2 separate regions of the Homo sapiens genome follow, and region 1 is linked to region 2. Evidence: promoter capture Hi-C in 16 types of primary human blood cells and fetal thymus (Javierre and others, 2016). All regions are on one chromosome and are shown on one strand. Each heading gives the region's core, a stretch centred on a gene start or on the middle of the fragment in contact. The rest is flanking DNA. Distances are from core to core; before and after follow the strand shown. Region 1 overlaps FIRRM (FIGNL1 interacting regulator of recombination and mitosis). Region 2 holds the start of SELP (selectin P).

What was found. The method cuts DNA at HindIII sites, captures the fragments that hold promoters and counts their contacts. A CHiCAGO score of 5 or more calls a contact.
Region 1: a contact is called between a fragment that was not itself captured here and the fragment with the promoter of SELP in region 2, in 1 of 17 cell types (neutrophils). The highest score is 5.5, in neutrophils.

Annotation. Positions count from the first base shown.
Region 1 is chr1:169,822,613-169,826,056 of GRCh38, reverse strand. It overlaps FIRRM (FIGNL1 interacting regulator of recombination and mitosis), which reads right to left. Exons shown (of 25, transcript NM_001320047.2): 11 at 2,585-2,649. Among named protein-coding and RNA genes, the nearest start is that of FIRRM, 29 kb to the right of the region's middle. The HindIII fragment of the contact is 5,588 bases long and covers 1-3,444 here.
Region 2 is chr1:169,628,645-169,632,171 of GRCh38, reverse strand. SELP (selectin P) reads left to right here and starts at 2,048. Exons shown (of 17, transcript NM_003005.4): 1 at 2,048-2,100. The coding sequence starts at 2,098. The HindIII fragment of the contact is 5,122 bases long and covers 1-2,360 here.

The sequences.
Region 1 (3,444 bases), core at 399-2,898, 190 kb before region 2:
AGAATGCTGAATTTACTATGAATTAATACTCAGTTTCTCAGAAGCAAGAGCTTTACAAGAAATAAACTGTATACTAACACTGAAGAATGGAAAGATTATTTCATGAAAATGTCTCAGTAACTGGATTTTAAACTGAACTTCAATCAAAACTTATGTGAACTAAGATATGTATTCTATATTTTTTGCCACATTAATTGTAAACTTGACAATACATGAGAAAACTCTGTCTAGCAGAGGATAACAGCATTTTAAAGTATGCACTTAAGATAAACACTTGAGGTTTTTGTAGAGTGATGGAAAAAGCACCAATCTGTCAATTAGTTACATGACTTTGGTTCATTCATTTGCCCTCCCTGAGACTCAGTTTCATCATTTGTGACATTGATTCTGAGTTACTGTGAGGATTAAATTATAAATAAATAAAAGACATATACAAATAAAACATAGTAATGAAATTCCACAGACTTGAATTACATCTACTGAGCATCATTGCAAGAATTTATTTTTTCAATCAACTATTTTTAAATTAATTTGACATATGTTTACTAAGTGCCTATGTATACATGCCATGCACTGTTCCACGAGTGGGTGATACAGTAATAAAGAGAATATACAAAGTCACTGTCTTTATAGTTTACAATTCTAATGAAAGGGGACAGTTAACAGACAAGTGTACAAGTAAATACATAATATAGCAGAGGTTAATTCAATGCTGTAAAGAAGAAAAATAAAACAAGGAAAGAAAGACAAGAAGTTCCATTGATGAAAGTCATTTTGAGGGGTTGAGCAGAGAAGTCACATCATCTGATTTATGTATTTTATCATTTACTTTGGCTACTTTGTGGAGAACAAACTAGCGCGAGGCAAAGATAGAAAGTTTTTTGCAAAATCCAGGCAAGAAAATAATAGGGGGTCAGATCAGATGGTAGCAGTTCAGGTGATGAGAAGTGCGTGTACGTGTGCGTGTGTGCACTGAAGGTAACATTGACAGAACATGTTAATAGGGCAAGGTTTTTTGGCCTGATCAATTTGAAGAACTGCCACTTAAACTGAAATAAAGAAGTTACAAAAGGAACAGATTTTGTTGGGTATGAGGATGATATGGGTGGAAATCAAGAGTTCAGTTTGGGACAATTTAGTATAGATGTCCTGACTAGTAGTTAAACATTAAAGGAGACATAAACTTAAAGTCTTGAGACTAAATGATAATAGACAGATAACAGGCCTGAGGAGTAAGTGCTGGGACACACTTAACTTAGAAGAGAAACCTGCTAAGGAGGCTGAGAAGGAGCAGCTAGTAAGACTAGAAGAGAACCAAGAGTGAGACATGCCCTAGAAACCAACAGAACAAAGTGTTCAAAAAAGAGGATCAAGTGCTACTGACAGGTTACAGAAGGACTATAATTGACTACTGGATGCAGCAATGTGGTGGTCACTGATGACCTTAACAAGAACTATTTTGATGAAGTGTTGGTACAGAAAGCCTGATTGGACTAGATTCAAGAAAGAGTTGAGACAGGGGTATAGACAACTCTTTCTAGAAATTTTGCTGTAAAGAAAGGCAGAGAAACGAGACGGTATTTGTAGGAGGACGTAGAGTCAAGAGATTTTGTTTTGTATTGTTAAGATGGGAAAAATAACAGCATATTTGTATACTCATGAGAGTGACCCAGTATGGAGGAAAGGCTGATGATGCAAGAGGGAAAGGGAATAATTGCTGGTGCAAGGTCACTGAGCCTGTGAGAGAGGATGAAATCCAATGCACAATGGAGAGGCTAGTCTTAGGGGCACAGTTCACTCATGGGAGTGAGGGAATGAATATATGGGTCTAGATACACATAGAATAGTAGATGTGTTAGAGGAAACATACAGCAGCTCTCTTAATTGCTTCCATTTTTCCTCAGTGACACAGGAAGTGAGGTCATTGACAGTGAGGAATTGGGAAGGTGTTGGAAGATACAGGAAGTTTGAGGAAGGAAAGGTGTGAAAAAGTTGTCTGGGACACTAAATGAATTATGAAGCTGCAACAGGACTGCTGGATAAATGAACTCACTTTGTGTCAAATTTAGGGCTCTTTGGAGGAAACCATCAATTTTAGAAGTCACTTAGCCCCCATCTAAATTTTGATACCTTTCTGTAATTCAGTTCTTTTCTGAGATGGTTTCAGAAAAAAGACTGTCCTGTAAAGTGAATTACAGAAAGGTATCAAAATGTAAATTTAAATGGAGGCTAAGTGACTTAAACTTCATAGAAACAAAATAAAAATAAAGATTAAAAAATGCCAATAGAAAAATAAAGGTATACGTATATTTGTGTATATATATATTTATATTTGCCATTGGATTTTATCACCTACTAATTATTACTCCTGTATAAGGTACTAATAAAATACAAAGATAAGCATAACTCATGTGGAATGTATCTTTCAAAAGCCTCTATCTCCAATTATTTCAAGCTAGCAGATAAAAATTACTAAAACATTAAGAAAAATTATTCTGTTTTATCATAAAATGGTAGGTACTTAAGCACTGCATGGCACAGATGGCATTGTTGTATCTTAATAATCATATGGCATTCTTCTTACCTGTGTATCTGAAGATACAGTTGGTGCAAAGTACAGCAAGAATCAGAGAGGAAAGGAAGAAATTCCTAAAATAAAACAACTCTATTCATTCTTTGCATAAAAATATGTCTCTTTAGTACATATAATCTCACAAAGGTATGCAAAATAACATAAAATCCTGAATGTGACCCCTTTTAAAAAAATTATTTGTTTTTCTTTCTTTTCTTTTCTTTTTTTTTTTTTGAGATAGCGTTTCACTCTTGTTGCCCAGGCTGCAGTACAATGTTGTGATCTCGGCTCATGAAACCTCTGCCTCCCAGGTTCAAGCAATTCTCGTGCCTCAGCCTCCCAGGCAGCTGGGATTACAGGCATGTACCACCATGCCCGGCTAATTTTGTATTGTTAGTAGAGGAGGGGTTTCACCATGTTGTCCAGGCTGGTCTTGAACTCCTGACCTCAGGTCATCCACCTGCCTTGGCCTCCCAAAGTGCTGGGATTACAGGCATGAGCCACCACACCCAGCACTAAAAAAAAATTCTTAACATGAGAATGAAAGGAGGATGAGGCTAAAAAACTCATTGTTCTATTTAACCACAATGTTCAAACGTTAAAAACTGTGTCATAATTTTAAAGAGGGCTGCGTATTTGAGAGTCATCAGAACAGTAGCGATAACTGTAAAATAGAAAAGTTGTCGACCGGGCACAGTGGCTCACACCTGTAATCCCAGCATTTTGGGAGGGCAGGGCAGGCAGATCACCTGAGGTCAGGAGTTCAAGACCAGACTGACCAACATGGTGAAACCCCATCTCTACTAAAAATACAAAAATTAGCTGGGTGTGGTGGCAGGCGCCTGTGGTCTCAGCTCCTCGGGAGGCTGAGG
Region 2 (3,527 bases), core at 799-3,298:
CTCCAGCCTGGGCCGCAGAGTGAGACCCTGTCTCAAAAAAAGAACCTACTAGTCTACATACCACACTTCCTCATCCCCATCTGAGACTATATATATTTTTTCTAACATGAGGCAATGCCAAAAAGAGGGGCTGGTGAGTGAAAGTAAGAACAGAAAGACATGGAGGCAAGTCTTATAGAATAATAGCCAACACTTAAACTTACACTTAACAGCGTGATAGGTATTGTTCCAAACACATTAAATTCATTTAATGGTCCTTACATGTCTATGTATTTGGTGATTATTATCCTTATTATTCACATTGCTGAGTGTATTATTCTGTTCTCATGATGCTGATAGAGACATACCCGAGACTGGATAACTTATTAAAAAAAAAAAGGTTTAATGGACTCACAGTTCCACGTGGATGGGGAGTCCTCACAATCATGGTAGAAAGCAAAAGACACGTCTTACATGGCAGCAGGGAAGAGAGAGAAATGAGAACCAAACAAAAGGGGTTTCCCCTTATAAAACCATCAGCTCTCATGCGACTTATTCACTACCATGAGAACAGTATGGGGGAAACCACCCCCATGATTCAATGATCTACCAGGTGCCTCCCACAACCTGTGGGAATTATGGGAGCTACAATTCCAGATGAGATTTGGGTGGGGACACAGCCAAACCACATCACTGAGGAAACTGAGTTATAGGGAGATTAGTAACGCCCAACACAGCTGGTAGGTGGTGGAGCCAGGCAGTCTGACTCTAGGGTCTGGACTCTGAACTGCATCATGCTGCCAAGAAGTTCCTCATTTTTTCCTCTCTCTAAGTTTCCCTTATTCCCCTACAGTCATTCCTTCAACAGCATTTCCTTCACCATCTTTTCTACTTCTACTATATAATTAATTTTTTCTTCTTGGTCCCAAATTCCAACGTGCAAATGCAGCCTTATATACCCTAATTCATCTTTACCTTTAGACTTTCTTCCAATGTTTCTACTTCATTCCATTTTAAATTTATCCATGAGATGCCTATTTACAAGCTGTAACCATCATGAAGTGAATGAAGAATAATACCTACTACTGTACAATAGAATTCCAAGAGTATAAATAGGAGTTATGGCTTTCTGACTTGAAACTAAATACTTGATACTTGATTTTGCTGTCTGAGATCAATCTGAAAAGTAATAATAATCACTAACATTTGTTGAGCATCAATTGTGGGCCAAGTGTCATTTCAATCACTCTGTACATATTAACTCATTTCATCCTACAACAACCCGGTGAGGCAAGTTCTGTTATTCTGTTTTACAGTTGAGGAAACAGAGGCATAGAGAGCTTAAGTAGTTTGCCCAGTAGATAGCCAGAAGAGGAGCCAGGATGGGTCTCGGGCAGTTTAACAGCACAGCTGAAGTCTTAACCACTATGCCAACAGCTTTTTGGTCCTACACATCCCATGGGAAGAGGAAAATAAAAAGGTATCTATTTGTATACCTTTTTATTTCTGATATAAGAAGCAGAATTCCTTTCACATGACCTATGTCTATTTAATACGTCATTTTGAAACTTACCAATAAAATTTCCCAAGCGCCAGAAAACTGTTAGTGGCTTTTTCCATTTCTCTCTATTTTTTTTTGTGCTACTAATTTTGCTTCTTTCCCTCAGAAGGCTGCCGGAATAGTAAACATTCACTGACATGTCATAATTACTGGAAAATGGGCACTGGAAAATCACATTGTAATTAATTCAAAGCATGTTTTCCAAATGTACTACTTTAAATTGGAGCTTATATCATAATCCAAGGAAACCTTTGTGTGTGTACTGTTCCCACATTGCTCAGCCTGGGATATCCAGGAGTAATTCACCTTGCGCCTGCCTCCAGACCATCTTCCATGGAAGGGGGTGACCCCTTGCCTCTTGGCAACCACTATTTCTAAGCTGCCAACATTACTCTTGCATTATCAACATTCTAACTTCATGGGAAGGGCTGTGGTGAGTTTCTGGAATGTGAATAGGAAGTTGTTTTTCTAAACAGCCTGACACTGAGGGGAGGCAGTGAGACTGTAAGCAGTCTGGGTTGGGCAGAAGGCAGAAAACCAGCAGAGTCACAGAGGAGATGGTGAGTTTATTTTTTTCTGCATGGGAAGTGGTTGAAGTGAGTTGGAGTGGTATGGAGTAAAGTCAGGCAGGTAAAGGTTCAGAAAGTGAGGAACAGCGATAGCCATGGAGTTTTATGTTGAATTGCCTATTAGATTTTGTGAGTACTTTTAAACTTGCTGTCCACTTTGACCCTCCCAACACCCTTGTGAGTTGAGGTTGCTATTTCTATTTTACAAATAAAGCCATCGTGGTTTACAGAGGCTGTGTTTTATCTAAGCTTCACTGTTAGGCTACATGATGTTGGGATCTGGGGCCTGTCCTCTGGCTCCGCAGCTGCTGTTCCTCCTACTAGAATTTATAGGGGCTCTCTGAGAATAGATCATGGTAAACCTGTCACCCCATTTTCCAAGACTGTACTTCTCTCTGGGATAAATGATGGAATAAATGGAAGACTGGGTAGGTGCCCTGGGACAAGCTTACAATTGAATAGTTTCTCATCCCCATCCCTCCCATTTCTTTCTGTGAGCCTATGAATCTTCTGGGACTGATCTGGAATATCCACATAGTTTCCTTTTCTGCCCTAAGACTCAATCTTGTTAATGACTCAGTTTCTTCTTCTATAAAATGGATATAGTAATAATACTCTATAGTTTCATCATGAGGATTAAATAAGATTTTGCTGAAAAGCATCCAGATCTGAGCCTGACACATAGTAAGTGATTAGTAAATGTTAGCCATTATTGTTACAATAAAAAGAAAATTCTTAGGAATAGTGGGGTTTAGGATTCAGGGAAGATCCAAGGATAGCTAGGCATTTTGAACTCAGCAATGTTATATGCTCATGGATAAGATGCACGTGGTTAGGCTACTTCTAATTCAGGGAAGATCCAAGGATAGCTAGGCATTTTGAACTCAGCAATGTTATATGCACCTAGATAAAATGCACATGGTTAAGCTACTTCCAATTTTCCTCAGACTTTCCAAGAGTATCCCACATAGTCCCAGGGTCCGAAATCCTGCAGTCTGTGGCTATGGAGGAACCAGGCAGGTCTCTGTTTTTGAGCACCTTTCTGTGGGACTCCAGAAAAAAGTACCGCATACACCTGATTCATCCTACTGCTTTGCTTTACTATAGCACACTTTTCAAGTACTTATAATGTGGGTTTCTGTGTTGGGGAAAACAGGAATAAGAGTATGATAAAGAGAAGAGGAAGGAGTTTGAGCCTGTCTTAAGTTTGAACCACAATGACCTAAGGATATGAATTACTTTTGTCCTGTCTTTTTGCATGTCATACTTCTGAATTGGTTAACTTAAATGAGCAGTTATTCCTCTCTTCCTTCTACTCTCCTTGGCATCCTCCTCTATTTCAAAGGTATGAACTTATTGGATCAGAGAGTTCTTTGAGATTTTGATGAAAGTTACAACTTGTCTTTCCCAGATGAAAG